6 separate regions of the Homo sapiens genome follow, and all the other regions are linked to region 2. The links are contacts of gene promoters, found by promoter capture Hi-C in blood cells and fetal thymus (Javierre and others, 2016). All regions are on one chromosome and are shown on one strand. Each heading gives the region's core, a stretch centred on a gene start or on the middle of the fragment in contact. The rest is flanking DNA. Distances are from core to core; before and after follow the strand shown. Region 1 overlaps PAXBP1 (PAX3 and PAX7 binding protein 1). Region 2 holds the start of DNAJC28 (DnaJ heat shock protein family (Hsp40) member C28). Region 3 has its middle 17 kb from the start of EPCIP. Region 4 overlaps LOC105377136 (a long non-coding RNA gene). Region 5 overlaps SYNJ1 (synaptojanin 1). Region 6 overlaps SYNJ1 (synaptojanin 1).

What was found. The method cuts DNA at HindIII sites, captures the fragments that hold promoters and counts their contacts. A CHiCAGO score of 5 or more calls a contact.
Region 1: a fragment that was not itself captured here is called in contact with the fragment with the promoter of DNAJC28 in region 2 in 5 of 17 cell types (total CD8 T cells, naive CD8 T cells, naive B cells and 2 more); the score reaches 7.1 in total CD8 T cells.
Region 3: a fragment that was not itself captured here is called in contact with the fragment with the promoter of DNAJC28 in region 2 in 2 of 17 cell types (non-activated CD4 T cells and total B cells); the score reaches 5.6 in non-activated CD4 T cells.
Region 4: a fragment that was not itself captured here is called in contact with the fragment with the promoter of DNAJC28 in region 2 in 1 of 17 cell types (naive B cells); the score reaches 6.3 in naive B cells.
Region 5: a fragment that was not itself captured here is called in contact with the fragment with the promoter of DNAJC28 in region 2 in 1 of 17 cell types (total CD4 T cells); the score reaches 5.0 in total CD4 T cells.
Region 6: a fragment that was not itself captured here is called in contact with the fragment with the promoter of DNAJC28 in region 2 in 1 of 17 cell types (naive CD4 T cells); the score reaches 5.5 in naive CD4 T cells.

The regions. Positions count from the first base shown.
Region 1 is chr21:32,743,134-32,746,251 of GRCh38, reverse strand. PAXBP1 (PAX3 and PAX7 binding protein 1) reads left to right here. Exons shown (of 18, transcript NM_016631.4): 12 at 534-678; 13 at 1,339-1,460; 14 at 2,498-2,574; 15 at 2,938-3,004. Among named protein-coding and RNA genes, the nearest start is that of PAXBP1-AS1, 17 kb to the right of the region's middle. The HindIII fragment of the contact is 627 bases long and covers 1,223-1,849 here.
Region 2 is chr21:33,489,926-33,493,003 of GRCh38, reverse strand. It overlaps DNAJC28 (DnaJ heat shock protein family (Hsp40) member C28), which reads left to right and starts at 1,288. Exons shown (of 2, transcript NM_001040192.3): 1 at 1,288-1,402. The HindIII fragment of the contact is 6,958 bases long and covers 1-3,078 here.
Region 3 is chr21:32,828,981-32,832,209 of GRCh38, reverse strand. No RefSeq gene overlaps it. Among named protein-coding and RNA genes, the nearest start is that of EPCIP, 17 kb to the right of the region's middle. The HindIII fragment of the contact is 3,521 bases long and covers 1-3,229 here.
Region 4 is chr21:32,929,268-32,932,353 of GRCh38, reverse strand. It overlaps LOC105377136 (a long non-coding RNA gene), which reads right to left. Exons shown (of 6, transcript XR_937669.3): 6 at 219-1,502. Among named protein-coding and RNA genes, the nearest start is that of LINC01690, 28 kb to the left of the region's middle. The HindIII fragment of the contact is 221 bases long and covers 1,226-1,446 here.
Region 5 is chr21:32,700,631-32,703,691 of GRCh38, reverse strand. SYNJ1 (synaptojanin 1) reads left to right here. Exons shown (of 33, transcript NM_203446.3): 3 at 1,645-1,731. Among named protein-coding and RNA genes, the nearest start is that of SYNJ1, 26 kb to the left of the region's middle. The HindIII fragment of the contact is 8,759 bases long and covers 1-3,061 here.
Region 6 is chr21:32,717,563-32,720,469 of GRCh38, reverse strand. All of the region lies in intron 2 of SYNJ1 (synaptojanin 1), which reads left to right. Among named protein-coding and RNA genes, the nearest start is that of SYNJ1, 9.0 kb to the left of the region's middle. The HindIII fragment of the contact is 2,462 bases long and covers 127-2,588 here.

The DNA of each region.
Region 1 (3,118 bases), core at 287-2,786, 750 kb after region 2:
CTTTTGTTGCAGTTGCTTTTGGTGTTTTTGTCGTGAAATCTTTGCCCATGCCGATGTCTTGAATGGTATTGCCTAGATTTTCTTCTAGGATTTTTATAGTTTTGGGGTTTACATTTAAGTCTTTAATCCATCTTGACTTAACTTTTGTATATGGTGTAAGGAAGGAGCCCAGTTTCAATTTTCTGTATATGGCTAGCCAATTCTCCCAACACCATTTATTAAACAGGGAATCTTTTCCCCATTGCTTGTTCGTGTCAGGTTTGTCGGAGATCAGATGGTTGTAGGTGTGCGGTCTTATTGCTGAGTTCTCTATTCTGTTCCATTGGTCTATGTGTCTGTTTTTGTATCAGTACCATGCTGTTTTGGTTACTGTGGCCTTATAGTTTGAAGTCTGGTAGCATGATATCTCCAGCCGTCCAGTTTTTAGTTGTTTGCAACCAAAGGTTAAATCCAGTTCTTGTTTCTCTTATCATAGCTGGAAGCAGAAATAGCCACTATTTTAGTATTTGGGTAACCTTTTAAATGTCTTTTAGGCAAAATGTCGTGACTTTGAGAATATGCTGTGGTTTGAATCTTTGCTGTTTTATGGTTGTGAAGAACGAGAGCAAGAAAAAGATGATGTAGATGTTGCCCTACTACCTACCATTGTGGAAAAGGTGATTCTTCCTAAACTAACAGGTAAATCTCCTGTTCTCTGAATTGAGCATTCAGACACACTGGCTTTCTCAAATCTATTTTTATGAGTTTATAATTCAGAGCATGTTTCCTTATAGAAATTACATGAGAAATAATAGTTACCACCTGGCCCAGAGATGGCTAGAGGGCAGAGGGGTTCTTATCCTGGGACTTGAAGACCACTTTAGGGTGGGCCTGTAGTTGAGTGCAGTAATTGCTTCATAGGTGAGGTTTAGAAATTCAAAGACTGACTGAAGCAAAATTATACAGAGTTTGAGGGAGGAGGATATGCATTTATGTGGGGAGCAATTAAAATGCTTTCATAAGTTCCTCAAAAAAGATTAGGAATCATTGATACAGGAATCTATTTTAAATACTAGAAATGTTAGTTTGAAATTCTTGATGCCAAGACAACATTTCTACAGAAATCCTCTTTTTTCCTAATCTTTATTTTCCCTGAGTACCAGAAATAAGAATAATCTATCCTCTCTCCACATCCCTATCCCTCCAAATTCCCACAGTTAATAGGACAAAGAAGACTAAAGCTTATATTGTAGAAAAAGAGGAAAAATAAATTAGGATTGGCATTAATAGAGGTCTGCTTGACAAAAAATTAAAGGTACAATTGGCTTCTGTGTCTCAATCCTCTTTTTTTCTTAATAGTGATAGCTGAAAATATGTGGGACCCTTTTTCTACAACACAGACTTCAAGAATGGTGGGAATTACACTAAAATTAATCAATGGATATCCTTCAGTAGTGAATGCAGAAAATAAAAATACACAGGTAATTTAGTATCTTTTGAAGCCTTTTTTTTTTTTCCTCTTTCTGTTGAATATGAGCAAGCATTGAGAGAATGAGTGGTTATCCTAAACCAATCAGAAATCTGGTTCTCCCACTTGGGCCATCAGGGCCATTAAAGCCTGAAATACACAAAATTTGAGATGTTAGGTTTTTTTTTTCTTTTTTTTATACCTAGTCCCGCAGAGAGATGTTAGTTTTCAGTTTAAAAAAATCAATATGGAAGGAAGATGTCATCATTTTAAATAGCCTTTCATTATGATTTCTCACCACCACACCTCAGTCCCAATCCAACTAATCAAATGTCCTTTTAAAGACTGTATTTTCTGGGGGGAAATGAGAAACCAAAATGTTAACAATTGATAATTTAAGCTTGTCCAACCCGTGGCCCATGGACATGTGGCCCAGGACGGCTTTGAATGCGGCCCAACACAAATTTGTAAACTGTCTTAATACATGAAATTTATGCACAGACCCCGCCCCCCTCCTTTTTTTTTTTCTTTTTTTTTTTTTTTTAGCTCATCAGCTGTCATTAGTGTCATTGTATTTTATGTGTGGCCCAAGACAGTTCTTCCAGTATGGCCCAGGGAAGCCAAAAGATTGGGCACCCAAACCATTTAAACAGCATATAAAACAACTAGATACTGTTTTATAACTAGTTGCCAAACTTAAAGTTAATGCTCTTCAGGGGCCATTCATAGAAGCTGTTTAAATGTAGAGAAGGTGGGTGCTCTTTGTCATTGTTGAATTTTCACTTTGAGAGCTAGATTATGTGTCTGGTCTTAAATCTTTATGTAGACTAAGGAATTGAAAGATTTCTAAAGCTTTATTGCTTGGCAGTTGTTGAGGAATGAACTAATAGATTATTAAGTATTAATTACTTTAGGGTCTTCAATGAGGAAAATTAAAAATTTGAGAAACTAGTTCACTCAGTTCAATATTCAGTTACATGATTTGGAATATGGCTTATTTTTCTTGTCATAGTCCTTATTAAAATGTGTGATCTACTTTTAACTTTTTAGGTATACCTAAAGGCACTTTTATTGAGAATGAGAAGAACTTTAGATGATGATGTATTTATGCCCTTATATCCCAAAAAGTAAGTAACTCTGAAGAACATTAAAGATAATATTCTCCATTGTGTTTCAGAGAAGGCTTATAAAATTCTGAAAAACTAGCTTGAAATACAAACTTCACCCATGTAGTGTATTACAGAGAGACTAGATTAGTGGCGAGATTGTTCCCTTAAGCAGAATAAAACAATACTCTTACGTTCTCCCTGAGTGTCTCAGAATAAATTTCCATTGCCTTTTTAACATACTATCTTCCAGAATGCAATTATTTGAAAAATTAAAAATTTATTTTGTTTACCTGTTTTGTAGAAAAATCTTTTGTCCAGGAATCATATGGCACCTACATATAAAATATCTGATCATGATATGTTTCTCTTTTTTTTACTTAGTGTCTTAGAAAATAAAAATTCTGGGCCTTACTTGTTTTTTCAACGACAGTTTTGGTCTTCAGTTAAGGTACGTGTCCATAGACTATCTAAAAGACTCAGATTTCGTTTGACTTCATATATTACATTTTTTAGAGTGTTTTGTTTTTTATTAACTCCATAGGCTTAGATCTATTTATATCTA
Region 2 (3,078 bases), core at 39-2,538:
AGCACCGCGCCCGGCCAGAAATCCTATTTTCTTTCACATGAGTTATTTTGTTGATTGTTTGCTTATAACTAAAGCCCTCAGAATCAGAGTTTATACTGTATCTTTTTCTGTGTTCCTACATAGATGGCAATAAATGATTCTAATGTTTATGATGTAGAAGCTGAGGAGGCTAATACCTATTTCTGGCTCCTTTTAGGAGACACAGTCATAACAAAAAATATTGCTTAATGTGCGAGGCACAGTGCCAAGTGGTTTACATACATTGTGTAATTCTCCCCCTAAAAAAGTCAATGAAGTTGATACAATTATTATTTCATTATATGTAAAATAGGGAAAATAACAGCATTTATCTCAGAGGGCTGTTGTAAAGATTAAATGAATGCCTGTAATCCCAGCACTTTGAAAGGCCGAGGCAGGCAGATCACCTTAGCTCAGGGGTTCGAGACCAGCCTGGCCAACATGGTGAAACCTGGTCTCCACTAAAAATACAAAAAAATTAGCTGGGCATGGTGGTGCGCGCCTGTAATTCCAGCTACTCGGGAGGCTGAGGCAGGAGAATAGCTTAAACCCGGGAGGTGGAGGTTGCAGCGAGCCGAGATCGCGCCACCACACTCCAGCCTGGGCGACAGAGCGAGACTCTGTCTCAAAAAAAAAAAAAAAAAAGTAAATGAGAATATACATAAAGCACTTAGCACAATGGCATACTATTTACTATAGTTTACTATTTATTGCAACTCTCATTTTGCAGGTATCTTGCCTAAGGTGCAAGCAGAAGAAACAGGATTTTCAACCCAGATCTGAAAACTCCCAAGCCTCTGCCTTTTTCTTTTTATCCTTTTTCTTTTTCCTTGTTAAAAAACTTGCTTCCTGTACAGAGAGGGGAAATGCTCAGTCCCCACGTCAGTGGTTGAACTCCAAGCCAGAAGATCCCTATTTTGATTTTGTCCTCTGGCCTGTCGCCAGCCCCTCAACAGTACTTGAATTAATAAAAGGGCAGGTTTTAAGCCTCATGTATCTGCGCAGGTGACTCCTTCTGTGACCCCGAATAAACCTGTTCCGGTCCCGTTCCGGGGAAACAGCCTTGCCTTCCCCTGCCCCCAGAAAGTTACCCTCGCCCTCCGAGCCACAACTCCCCACGCCGCCAACTCGGTCTTTACATCATTTTCGACGCCCCCTAAGTCCCTCCCGAGAGGCGCAGGCGCACATCGCCCCTTCTAGCGAACTACATCTCCCACAATCCCAATCGGCCGGACCACCTCCGCTCGGGGCGGGGACGGAGGTGGAGCTGGTGGTCCCCGGTCGGGACGAAGGCTCCCGAGGTGCCCTGCCTGGGTCCTCCGGGGTAAAGTTCGTTTGGCGGAAGATTGTCCGTTTTCCTGGTAAGGTCACCTGTCCCAATCAGGTACGATTCTGCCTTCCGTACCCCCGAGCCCCTCAGTGTAAAGTGGCAAATGGTCTAGCCCGGCGGAGGCACCAGCTGGAGGCGGTGGGAGGGACACCCGCAGTGAAGGGCGGACCGCGCACGCATGCGCAGAGGCGCGGCAGGGGGGCGGGAGCCGCGGAACCCCTACCCCAGGTCTGCGCAGGTGAGGAGGGGGCGGGGCAGGACCGACCTCCCTTGCCATGATAACCACCTTCGCAGCCGGCTCCCAGACCGTTGGCACCGATTGCCTAGAAAATAGGGGGTCTCAGGAGCTCCGTTTTAGCGTTTATATATCCCAATTCCAATTAAGCCACTTCCAGTATTTTTTGGCCATTGTCAGTGTACAAGTCTTCCTCCTCTTCGAGACCATGTTATTGCAATAGCAGCAAACGTGTTGGGAGGCCTCACAATTCATCATGGTTTTTCTGGCCTCTGGCAGATAGCTCCTTCCTAGCGAGCTGTGGAGCTTAAAGTCTTTTGGACACTTGATTCTATTCAATCCAGTATCAGACCAGGTACGTACCTTGTCCATAAGTCGTCTTATGAGAAGACTTCTTGAGATGATGCAGACTCTCGTGCAGTTTATAATCGGCTGGAGGTATAGACAGTTAAGCAAGCCTCCTTTTTTACTGTGCCCACCCCTAACCATTTTGCTTACACCTTGTTATGGGACTTGGTTAAATTGCTTAACCTTCCGGACCTACGTTTTCTCATTAAATGAGAAGATTGGATTAGATGATCTCTAAGAACTTTCCACTTGTAAAATATACGGTTAGTTAGTGAGGGGTAGAATCCAGATTCTATCTATCTATATTTTTTTGAGACAGAGTCTCACTCTGTTGCCCAGGCTGGAGTGCAGTGGCACGATCTCGGTTCACTGCAACCTCCACCTCCCGGGTTCAAGCGATTCTCTTGCCTCAGCCTCCCGAGTAGCTGGGACTGCAACCTCCAGTTAATTTTTGTATTTTTAGTAGAGACAGGGTTTTGCCATGTTAGCCAGGCTGATCTCGAACTCCTGACCTCAGGTGATCCACCCACCTCGGCCTCCTAAAGTACTGGGATTACAGGCGTGTGCCACCGTGCCTGGCCCCACAATATGTTAACACTAAACTTCATCAGCTTCCACTTTTCTGCCCACATCAGTGAAATATAGCTATAAGAATGCAGCTGGTGGGGCTGGGTGCGGTGGCTCACGCCTGTAATCCCAGCACTTTGGGAGGTCGAGGCGGGCAGATCACAGGGTCAGGAGATCGAGACCATCCTGGCTAACACGGTGAAACGCCGTCTCTACTAAAAATACAAAAATTAGCCAGGAGTGGTGTCGTGCACCTGTAATCCCAGCTACTTGGGAGGCTGAGGCAGGAGAATCGCTTGAACCCGGGAGGCAGAGGTTGCAGTGAGCCGAGATCATGCCATTGCACTCCAGCCTGGGTGAGACTCTGTCTCAAAAAAAAAAAAAAGAAAAGAAAAGAAAAGAAAAAAGAATGTGGCTGGGCACAGTGGCTCACCCCTATAATCCCAGCACTTTGGGAGGCAGAAACTGGCAGATCGTTTGAGCTCAGGAGTTGGAGACCAGGGTGGGCAACATGACGAAACCCCATCCCTACAAAAATACAGAAATTAGCCAGGTGTGGTGGTGCACGCCTGTAGTCCTA
Region 3 (3,229 bases), core at 371-2,870, 660 kb after region 2:
TATTTGGCTGGGCGCAGTGGCTCATGCCTGTAATCCCAGCACTTTGGGAGGCCAAGGCAGGTAGATCACCTGAAGTCAGGAGTTCGAGACCATCCTGACCAACATGGAGAAACCCTGTCTCTACTAAAAATACAAAATTAGCCAGGCGTGGTGCCACATGCCTGTAATCCCAGCTACTTGGGAGCCTGAGGCAGGAGAAGAGCTTGAACCTGGGAGGCAGAGGTTGCGAAACTCCATCAAAAAAAAAAAAAAGGCCGGGCGCGGTGGCTCACGCCTGTGGTCCCAGCACTTTGGGAGGCTGAGGCAGGCAGATCATGCGGTCAGGAGATCGAAACCAGCCTGGCCAACATGGTGAAACCCAGTCTCTACTAAAAATACTAAAAAAAATGCTGGGGGTGGTGGTGGGCTCCTGTAATCCCGGCTACTCAGGAGGCTGAGGCAGGAGAATCGCTTGAACCCAGGAGGCGGAGGTTGCAGTGAGCCAAGATCGTCCCACTGCACTCCAGCCTGGGGGAAAGTGCGAGACTCTGTCTCAAAAAGAAAAAAAATCAGTTACATTCTATTTATAAAAGATAATCCAAAACATATGGAGGACAAGGGAATAAAGTGATGAATAAAGATATACCAGACAAATAGGAACCAAAAAAAAAATCTAGGATCGCCACATCAATTTTAGACAAAATAACAATAAAGAGGGTAACTAACATTCTGATTATCTAGAAAAGAGAGTAACTAACATTCTGTTGTTTAGAACAACAATTCTAGAGTAGAGGGCATCATATAAAATAGCGTCAAGGAGGAATAAGTTCCAGTGTTCTATACCATTGTAGGATGACTGTAGTCAAAAATAATATGTGGTTTCAAACAGCTAGAAGGAGGATATCAAATGTCCCCCATACAAACGAATGATAAATGTTTGAAATGATGGATATGCTAATTCTTGTTATTCTGATCACTATACTTTATATGTACCAAAACATCACTATGTGCCCCATAAATGTGTACAATTATTACATGTCAACTTAAATATATATAAAGCAATAATTCTAAAACAAGAGATTCTAAAATTAAATGGAAACATAGTGGGCTAAGAGTAGCTAAGGCAATCTTGAAGAACACTTCGGAGCTATTAAAATTTATAAAAGACCTATCATAAAACTCTAGTGGCCAAGACAGTAAGGTATCGGTACAAGAATGAAAAAAAACAATAGAACAGAATGGTGAGTTGAGAAACAGACCCACATATATACAGTCATCCAATTCATAAGAAATTGACAATCAGACAATTAAATTTGTTTAAAATCTTGACCCCTGACTCACACCAAAGATGAAAATCAATTCCAGACAGATCATAGATTAAATGTATTGGGTTAAACCATATGAAACTCCTATTTTTTATGTTGACTATTAGTAATTTCATATGGTTTAACTTAATAAAACAGTAAAACTTTTGTGATAGAGCATGGGAAAATATTTTCATGAAACTGAAGTAGCCAAAGGTCTATTTAACCAACACAAAAAATGTGATAATCATAGAGAAAAAATAAGTAAATTAAAACACATTAATATTAAAAACTTTCGGCCAGGCGCAGCAGCTCATGCCTGTAATCCCAGCACTTTGGGAGGCCAAGGGAGGTGGATCACCTGAGGTCGGGAGTTTGAGACCATCCTGACCAACATGGAAAAACTCCATCTCTACTAAAAACACAAAATTAGCCGAGCATGATGGCGCACGCCTGTAATCCTAGCTACTCAGGAGGCTGAGGCAGGAGAATCACTTGAACCTGGGAGGCAGAGTTTGTGGTGAGCTGAGATCACTCCATTGCACTCCACCCCAGGCAACAAGAGTGAAACTCTGTCTCAAAAAATAAAAAAGATTAAAAACTTTTGTTCATCAAAAGACAGTGTTAAGAGTGAAAAGTTAAGCCACAGAGTGGGAGAATATATTTAAAATACATGTATTCAACAAAGGACTCATTCAGATTATATAACGAACTCCTACAAAGCGATTTGTATTAAATGTCAGACAACCCAAAAGAAAAAAATGGGCAGAATTATGAGCAATTATGTCACCACACAAAGAAGATAGCCTTCAAATAGTTATCAAGAAAATGTCACCTAGGACCACAATTGTGTACACAAGAATGACTAAAGGGAAGAAGACACTATCAAGTGTGGGCAAGAGTGAGGAACAACGGGGACCCTCATATACTACTGGTCGGGGTGTAAAATGGCCCACCCACCTTAGAAAACTGTCAGGCGACATCTACTAAAGCAGAAACATATGTGTAGTCTGTGACCCAGCAATTTCAATCTTGGATGTATACTCAACAGAAATGTATATACATGTTCACCAAAACACATTTAGGAGAATGTTCATGGCTTCACTATTTATAATAGTAAAAGAACTGGATACAACCCACATGCCCATCTATAGTAGAATGGGACTAGGTACAGTGGCTCACGCCTATAATCCCAGCACTTTAGGAGGCCAAGGCAGAAGGATCGCTTGAGCCCAGGAGTTCAAGATTAGCCTGGGCAACATAGTGAGATCCCACTCTACAAAATAATTTTTTTTTAAAGATGAAAAATTAGCTGGGCATGTTGGCATATTCTTGTAGTCCCAGCTACTCAGGAGGTTGAGGTGGTAGGAACCCTTAAGCCCAGAAGTTGGAGGATACAGTGAACCATGATTGTGCCACTGCACTCTAGCCTGGGTGACAGACCAAGATCCTGTCTCAAACATTAAAAAAAATAAAATTAAAATAGTAGAATGGGTAAATAAATTGTGTAATATCCACACTTAGAATAATATTCAACAGTCAGTGAGAGCGAATCATCTGTAACTGTCTAAGACTACTCAGGCCCTATAACAAAACATCACCTATTGGATGACTTATAAAAACAGACATTTATTCCTCATGGTTCTAAAGGCTGGAAGTTCAAGATCAAGGTGCCAGCAGATTTGATGTCTGGTGAGGGGCACTTTCTGGTTCATAGATGGTGCCTTCTTGCTGTGTCCTCACATGATGGAAGAGAGAAAACGCTGGTCTCTCAGCTTCTTCTAAGGGCACTAAGTCCCATTCCTGAAGGCTCTACCCTTATGACGTAATCGCCTTCCAAAGGCCCTGCTTTCTAATACCATCGTCTCAAGAGTTAGAATTTCAACCTGTGAATTTTCAGACCAAAGCAAGAATATAAAGCACTCAAAAACAACCTCAGATATATA
Region 4 (3,086 bases), core at 87-2,586, 560 kb after region 2:
CAGGAACCCACCACCATGCCTGGCTAATTTTTGCATTTTTGGTAGAGATGGGGTTTCACCATGTTGGCCAGGCTGGTCTTGAATTCCTGACCTCAAGTGATCTGCCTGCCTTGGCCTCCCAAAGTGCTGGGATTACAGGCGTGAGCCACCATGCCCGGCCAGGAAGTGGGTTTTTGGGAGCCCTCAAAGAGGCAAATGCGAAGTGCCACAACCACAAACGCTGACCAAGCCCCTGGTGGCCTTGAGACCTTGGGGTGAATGTACAGTGCCCTCTTGTCCACAGCTGTGCTTTGGGGCCCACAGTCTGCTGTAAAAGGATGCTGGCTTGTAAGAGATGAGGGTAGGCAGGGAGCAACCTGGATGTGAGTTTGCAGATCTGGGCAAGGAACTTTTCATCTCTGGGTCTCTGGTTCTTCATTTGGTTACATCAATTACCTACAATATTCTAGCTCTAATGTTTATGATTACTGAATTGCATCCACATCTAGACTAACTAGACGTGATGCTTCTGGTTCAGCCCAGCTAGCAATCAAGCATTGGATCAGAAAGGTGACATCTACTTTTGAAAAGGGAGAGACATTGAGAGAGAGAAAAAGAGAGAGAGAGAGAAAAGCAACATGTTATCTCAGCAAACCAAGCTCAGGGACCTATAATTCTGTCTGGAATTATGGACATCTATAATTTTCCCTGATTTCTCTGGGGGAATAGCCCGGCACAGATCCATGGAACCTGCCCTGTTGTTGTTGTTGTTGTTTTCCCGTGGGTCTCGGGTAAGGTCCAGGCAACTGTATTTTGCATACTCCAAGTAATTTAAAAGCTTGCCAAATTGTGAAGGTCTCTGTTTTAAACCATTTGCCTCTTGCCTAACCAGACTTTCTGGTCTTGCCTTGTTCCAGACTTTTGGCATCCTAATCTGAACAAAATCATCTAATCTGAATAAGATCACTACCCACATTTACGAAGTGGCCCAAACTATCCTTCATCTAGATTCTACCATTAACAGAAGCCTCACCAAGGTATAGAAAGATTAAGACAGTGGCCCAGGGAGCCATTTATATTCTCAAAAGTTATCTGAATCGTAGCAGAATGGGCAACAGGCCTTGCTTGATGGGATTCCTGGGCCTGGCTCTGCTTTGAATTTTGGCCTCAAACATTGCAGAAGCTCTCTTTGCCTCTCAAGATATGAAATATCCAAATGGGCAAAGTCTAGCATGAAGACGAAGCTTGGTCTTCAGCCCCATGACAGACACTACCAGGAAACTAGACTGCAAACCCCAAGGCCCAAGACTTCCTCTACCTGGGGGTATTGGGTGTGGAATTGGCACTCAACGCCTTCCTGGTGGCAAGTGTTGCTTGATGAAACCAAAGTGTCCTCCAGGTTTCTTCTTGCTCGTTAGGAACCAGCCCGCACAGCAGGAGCTGAGCAGCAGGCAAGCGAGCCAAGCTTCATCTGTATTTACAGCTGCTCCCCATCACTCGCATTACTGCCTCAGCTCCACCTCCTGTCAGATCAGAGGCAGCATTAGATTCTCAGAGAAGCATGAACGCTATTGTGAACTGCGCATGCGAGGGATCTAGATTGCTGCTATTTATGAGAATCTAATGCATGATGACCTGTCACTGTCTCCCCTCACCCCTAGATGGGACCACCTAGTTGCAGGAAAACAAGCTCAGGTTCCTACTGATTCTACATTATGGTGAGTTGTATAATTATTTCATTGTCTATCACAATGTAATAATAATAGAAATCAGTGCACAATAAGCGTAATGCACTTGAATTATTCTGAAACCATCCCCCCGCACCCCATCCATGGAAAAATTGTCTTCCGTGAAACTGGTCCCTGGTACCAAAAAGGTTGGGGCAAAACCTGGGCACGGTGGCTCACACCTGTAATCCCAGCACTTTGGGAGGTCAAGGTGGGCAGATCATAAGGTCAGGCGTTCCAGACCAGCCTGGGCAACATGGCGAAACCCCATCTCTACTAAAAATACAAAAAACAGCCAGGCATGGGGGTGGGCATCTGTAATCCCAGCAGGAGGATTGCTTGAACCTGGGAGGTGGAGGTTGCAGTGAGCTGAGATTGTGCCACTGCACTCCAGCCTGGGTGACAAGAGGAAGACTCTGTCTCAAAAAAAAAAAAAAAAAAAAAAAAAATCTGTGTTAGATAACAAAGAATGAATGATAAAAGTAATATGTGTATTAGGCAGAAAACTTGGAAAATATAAAAAAACTAAAACAAAACAAAAGCAACTCTTATCCTAACACCCAGAGATAGCCACTGTTAATATTTTCTGGTGCATCTGCTCTACATTTTGAGTAGATAAAATGTATGGTTAGACTCCTTGTCTTTCAAGTCCTGCACTTTCTCCAGCCTCTACTCTTTTCTCCTCTGTGGTTCTTTAATGGGTTATTTCTCAGAAAAGGATGTCACACTCATTCACACCAAGGTATAATTGAATAATAATAGCTGAGAGTATTACTTTGACTAGGCAAGTTCTATTTTTAACAGACTTAAAGCTTTCAGATGAGAGAATAAAGCAGTTAGCACTTCTCCCCCGCCACCTCCTCTATCTCAGCTATCTCCGAGTCCACTACACTTAGAATGATTAGATCTGAAGTCTAGGCCCAGCATTGTCACAGTCAGCCATTATTGTGAACTTAGACAAGTAATTTCACTTTTTTATGTCTTTTCTGTAAAGTAAAAGGGGTTAAGCCAGGAAGTAATAACTCATTAAAGTCAAACACTTTTTTTTTTTTAGATGGAGTTTCACTCTTGTCGCCCCGATTAGAGTGCAATGGTGCGATCTCGGCTCACCGCAAACTCCACCTCCCAGGTCAAGTGATTCTCCCGCTTCAGCCTCCCGAGTAGCTGGAATTACAGGCGCCAGCCACCATGCCTGGCTAATTTTTTGTATTTTTAGTAGAGACAGGGTTTCACCATGTTGGCCGGGCTGGTTTCAAACTCCTGACCTCGTGATCCACCTGCCTCGGCCTCCCAAAGTGCTGAAATTACAGGCATGAGCCACCACGCCCGGCCAGGTCAAACACTCTTTATTCCATAATTGAATGCATATATATGTACTTA
Region 5 (3,061 bases), core at 172-2,671, 790 kb after region 2:
CCTGGCATTTGAACCCAAATGATGATTGCTGCTGAAATGGATATATCTAGTACTTTCTATATTACTATATTAGTGATTGTATTTTAAATGTATATGGCATATAACTTGTAAACCTCTAGAATAATATTTATCCTGGAAGTCATGCCTTCTGTCCTGAGAGGTATAACAAGTCTCTCTAATGTTTACAGTACATATGGTACTCTTAACGAGGCAGTATTTAGAAGGCAATTCTATTTTGCTTTATAAAATGTAATTAAAGTTTATATTGTAATGTTTTACATTTGGGTTGCTTGTCATGGAATGTTAGGATCAACTGTTGGATAAACATAAGATGTAATAATAATAGGAACTCAAGGAATACAGAATGAAATATAAATCCCCATCACTTTAACGGGTTGGCGAATCTCCACTCCCTAATTTCATACTGGGTGGTTTGATAATGGCCCACACTTAATAATGAACATGTTAGAGAATCGTGAAAATATCAGCTAATTGAGTGACTGAGTCAGTTAGTCTTAGCCTGTGCTGCAACTAGCAGAGCAAAACTCATCAGAAGGCAGAAGCCAGATCACTAGGAAGAAGGCTTAAGCCTACGTGGTCTGAAAAGAGGTGAAGCAGGCAGGGAAAGTGAGATGTTCTATAGGACTCTGGAGAAGAGCTTCAGGCAAAGTAGAAGATCTCTAATGCAAAGTACAAAGGAGTATTAGGCAAAGCAGTAGGCTGAGAAGAGCCCTTTTGTTGGCAATAAAGATGGACAGGAAATGAGACAGTCATAAGTATCTACTTACGTGATTTTCTAACGTGGAACACGTCAGTGTTGCCAAACATCCTATTTTGTAGATAAAGGAAAGGGGATAAGTGTAAGAGATAAGAAGTAAATAAGGTATGAACCAGTCAGCCAGGAGGTGAGTTGAGTGTGGTGTAGATAATGGAAAAGGGAAAAAAGCAAAGAAGGAAAGAAACCTGGAAGGAAAGGAAGGTATCTTTCTCAAGGATCAACTGTAGACTGTGGGATGTATTATTTGTATTTGTCCTTTGAAATACTGGTTGTTAATATTTCTTTGGTTCTTTGTGAAATTTTTAATGTGTAATTGCTAAGTGCTAGGAAGGTTTTTTCTTTAACGTTTCAGGATTTGATTTTTTTTTGTTGTTTTTTCTTCTCAATAGAATAATCATAATAGCCTGTCTTAGGAAAATTATTCTGTGGTTTATATTCATTAACAAGGTAACGTTAACTTTATAGCAGAAGAAATAAATCAAGGCAAAGACCAGACTTTTGTCCTTTCAGAATCAGATTTCCCTATTCTTGCCCTACATTTGTGTAGTCAAGTGTTGCCATTAGCTTTTATCATTTAAATGTTTTGTCAGTTTCTAAGTGTCGAGCACTATTCTGTCAAGAATAAAAGGGTAAGAAGACAGAGTTCAGATCAGTGGACAGGATGGATTAATTAATAGATGGTCTTGGAATAATTTATTAACTCTTTGGGAAGAATACTAATGTTACTAGTTTAAGAAAATATGCAGTACATTTATTTTAAGAATATCAGATTTAGAAACTTTTGATTGAAACTCTGGATTTATACTTAGCTAAATAGAATCCAATGTTTCAGGTCATTTTTCTTAAACTAAAACTTTTTTTTGTAGCATCTGCAGAAAAAGAGGCAATCAAGGGTACATACTCCAAAGTACTGGATGCATATGGACTCTTAGGTGTTCTGCGGTTAAATCTTGGTAAGTTTATCATTCAGTAGAATTCATCCATTTTTTCATTTCTATTTTGTAATTCTAAGGATTTGAGAGGGACTAGCTATGAATTATTGTAGACTCCATATTTAAGCTACACATGTGCTAACATCTTTTAAACATTAATGTAGCTAATATTGTGATAATGTTTGTTGCCCAAAAAGGCGTGCTACATGCTCAAACTCATGTGAGTGGAAGTTCGGAGACAGTCTCTGGTTTGACCACTTGAAGAGATAAGTATCAGTTGTCAAAAGAGAAAATCAGAACATTCTCCTTTTTGTTGATTCAGTGCATTTAGGAAAAAGTGTCTGCATGAGAACTACACTGATTTTTCTTGGTTTGTATTGGAAAAGACATCTGTTTTGAATTCAGAAAGTGTCTGCTTGAGCCTTTTTTTTTTTTTTGCCACGTAATGTCACCGTGAGCTGCAGAGTAACCTTTGCAGTTACTAGTTTATCTGTAATTTTGCAGCTCAAAGTGTTCTTCAACATTGGTACTGGTCCATAAATCATTTTGTTATTGATCCGTGATAAGATAAGGAGCTTGCACTATGATACAAATCAACATGTGGCTTCCTTCATTGATAAAGTCTTACTAGAAAAAAAAGTCAGCTCAACTAAAGGGTGAACTTAGTAATATAGTTGATTTCCATTCTGGTGTAAGTGTCCTTTCTCATTGTGAGCTGGTAACAGTTCATGGACCATACTTTGAGTAGCACTGGTCTATAAAATGGAGATTTGTCATTTGTTATGAATCTATCACATATAAAGCACTGCGCTTAGGTGCTTTACTGATTACTCCTGGGTAAGCCTCACAGTATAATGAGGTATTTGCTTTAATCTCTTTTTATAAGAGATGATATCTCAGGTTCGTTATGCTACATACTGAAATTGGTCCAGGTAATAAGTAATGGAGCCAAGATTCAGGGCCGCTTCTACCTGTGTCAGAGCCCATGCTCACAGTATACCATTGCTCAATTTCAACTTTATACTAATTTCATAGGCTTTTTGTCATAATTACATGAAAAAAATCTCTGTGAAAGTTTTTGTAAACCAAATTGCTTTATAAGTTGTTACCAGAGACTTTTGTCCATTTGTCATCAACATCATCAGCTGATAATAGTATACCATTTTTTCAACTTTACTATTTACAAAGAACTTGTTAAAATGAGTGTGAATTCATTATCTTACCTGAATTTTCTGACAATCATTAAGCAAAAGTAGAGAAGGTAACACATACTTTTTTATTTGATAAAGTTTTTTTCTTGTTTGTTTGTTCGTGTGGTTTTTTTTGAGACGTAGTTTTAGCTCCTGTTGCC
Region 6 (2,907 bases), core at 108-2,607, 770 kb after region 2:
TCATAATACTATAGGATGATATTCTGAGATCTTTATTACAGAATATGAAATATCCTCTCTTTTCTATAAAACTGCGTAAAGGACTAATCGTAGTGAAATGATAATGGCTACCACTTACTGGAAGCTTATTCTGCCAGTCACAACATTAAGCCAGAGGTTTTTAAACTTCATTGTTTTATGGTGACCTTATTATCTCATTAAGTTGTTTTTGTTTTTGTTTTTGTTTTTGAGAGGGAGAGTTTCGCTCTTGTTGCCCAAGCTGGAGTGCAATGGTGCGATCTCGGCTCACTGCAACCTCTGCCTCCCGGGTTCAAGCAGTTCTCCTGCCTCAGCCTCCCAAGTAGCTGGGATTACAGGCATGTGGCACCACGCCCAGCTAATTTTGTATTTTTAGTAGAGACGGGGTTTCTCCATGTTGGTCAGGCTGGTCTTGAGCTCCTGACCTCAGGTGATCTGCCCACCTCGGCCTTCCAAAGTCCTGGGATTACAGGTGTGAGCCACTGTGCCTGGCCTCGTTAAGTTTTTCACAACACCCCTAGGCCACAAACAATACTTAATAGTTCTGTTTATTAAATAGTTAGGTCCAAAAAATATTTGTGTCCCAACAGCTTTTGTAGCTGTTCAAAAAAAAAAATGCAGAAAAAATAGAACATTTATTTTCTTCATAAGTAACCACAATTTACTAATGAGATGTGTGTGCTTGTTGAGCACTGAGCACTAAATAGCTTTTCTTTTTCTTTCTTTTTTTTTTTTTTTAAGATGGAGTTTTACTCTTGTCACCCAGGTTGGAGTGCAATGGCACGGTCTCGGCTCACTGCAACCTCTGCCTACGGGTTCAAGCAATTCTCCTGCCTCAGCCTCTCAAGTAGCTGGGATTGCAGGCACCCGCTACCACACCTGGCTAATGTTTGTATTTTTAGTAGAGACGGGGTTTCACCATGTTGGCCAGGCTGGTCTCGAACTCCTGACCTCAGGTGATCTGCCCACCATGGCCTTCCAAAGTGCTGGGATTACGGGCGTGAGCCACTGCTCCCAGCCTGCATAGCTTTTCAAACCTTGGAACAGAGTACACTGCCGTCCTCATTTCCTGTTCCACATTGATTTTCAAGTGACACTTGCTTTTATCACAGCAACCAGCAAAAACCCGGTTTCACTAATATATATCATCCAAGGAATGCACTGCAATCTAATATGACAACTCAAGCACCTCAGGTTAATAGTTTGGCTGGTTTCCAGCATGTGTTGAGAATCTCAGTGTTTCCTTCTGTTTAAAATATGCAGCTTCCCTGGGAGTTTGCTGTAGTGCCGTGGGGCATCTGAGCACACAGTTCAGGAGATGTGGCATTTGACACACTTTATTTCATTCAGTTCAGATTGTGCTTTTATCCACATTTCAGAGATTTGGAAACTGAGGATTGGAAAGATAACTGCCCCAATGACATAGTCCTACCATTTAATTTTTTTTTACTGTAATTATTGTTTGTGCTGTTGTGAGGCTATTGTATTACCATATATTGTGTGGCTATTATTTTCAGGGGTGGGGAATGAAGTGTAAAAATAAGGGAAGGCGTTAAGGTTAAGAGTGTAATTGGTAGCATTTTCTAATGAGGGAACTGTACACTTGTGTTTTTCCCTACAAACTATTAACATATTAATATATTAGAGGAGAAAGTATGGTTTAATTTACAGTAAAGTCATTAAAAACAAAGTTTCTTTCCTGGGCCAAGTTAAATGTCAGGTTCTAGACTTTTGGATAAATATAGTAGGTGGTAATGCCAAACAGTGTGTGTAGTTTGTTTTTTTTTTTTAATTGCCAAACGCTGTCAACATGATTGCCCTTTAGATAAGTTGCAGTGTCCTGTCTCTTTTAAAGAAAAATTTGCAAGTTGAGGGAAGAAGTGACTTTTTATAGTTGACTTTTTCAGCAGAGAAATCATGAAATTTAGACTTGTTATATATCACTTTATGTTAGGGTTGCAAAAATTCATTTTCTTTTTATAAATACCTTTGGAAGGTGCATATTTATTTTCTTTCTTTTTTTATGTGCCCCTGTAGTCTGAGGAATGTACGTATTTAATAGAAAGTAACTTAAATGTCAACTCTTTAAAAAGAAAATCAACCAAACTTTTTTATTCTGGGTTGGTAGTAGGATTGACCTAGGGTCAAACCAGTAGTTAGTTCTTAAGTGCTTTCATTTCTTCACCACTTAACTTTGCTATGAGGAAATAAAAAGGAAAGGCAGAACTTCCACTCTCACTGAATAGTAAAAACTCTGTGGCTTTTTATTACATCATCTCAGGTCTATCAGATGTTCTAACTTGTCCTATAAAATATACGTAACTCAGGACTATAACGGGAGCTTCTGACCATAGTGGAGTAACAGGAACTAGATTTACCCTCCTACCTTAAGTAACAACAACAAAATGAACAAAATACATGGAATGATTTGCAGACCTTGAACAAAAGGCAGCACAAGATGCTGACCCCTGAGAGAAGGGAAACAAATGAGGTGGGTTTTATGAATGCTCCAGCTTACTGCCTGGAGAGCTTCCAGGCCACAGCAGCAGAAGAGTCACTCAAGCAAAGCTTGACAGGATTCCTGAGTAGGGAATATGGGGAGGCCAAGGCAGCCAGAATCTCAGGGCTGTGTACTAGAGATGAGACAGTTGCACAAAGAGCTCCAGAGATCTGTAGAGGACTCCGTTTGAGACTTCAGCTCAGTGTTGATCGGTGCCAGTGTGTAAGGAAACCATTTGAGGCAGGGAAAGAATCACCAAAAAGGAGTAGGCAGAAAAATTTCTGGAGCTCACACAGGGCTGGGAATAGTTCATGTTTAACAACTAGAGTGGAGAAGTCCTGCATGGAGAATTAGGTTGAGTACTGCAAAGGGTATACTGCTTCAGTAAA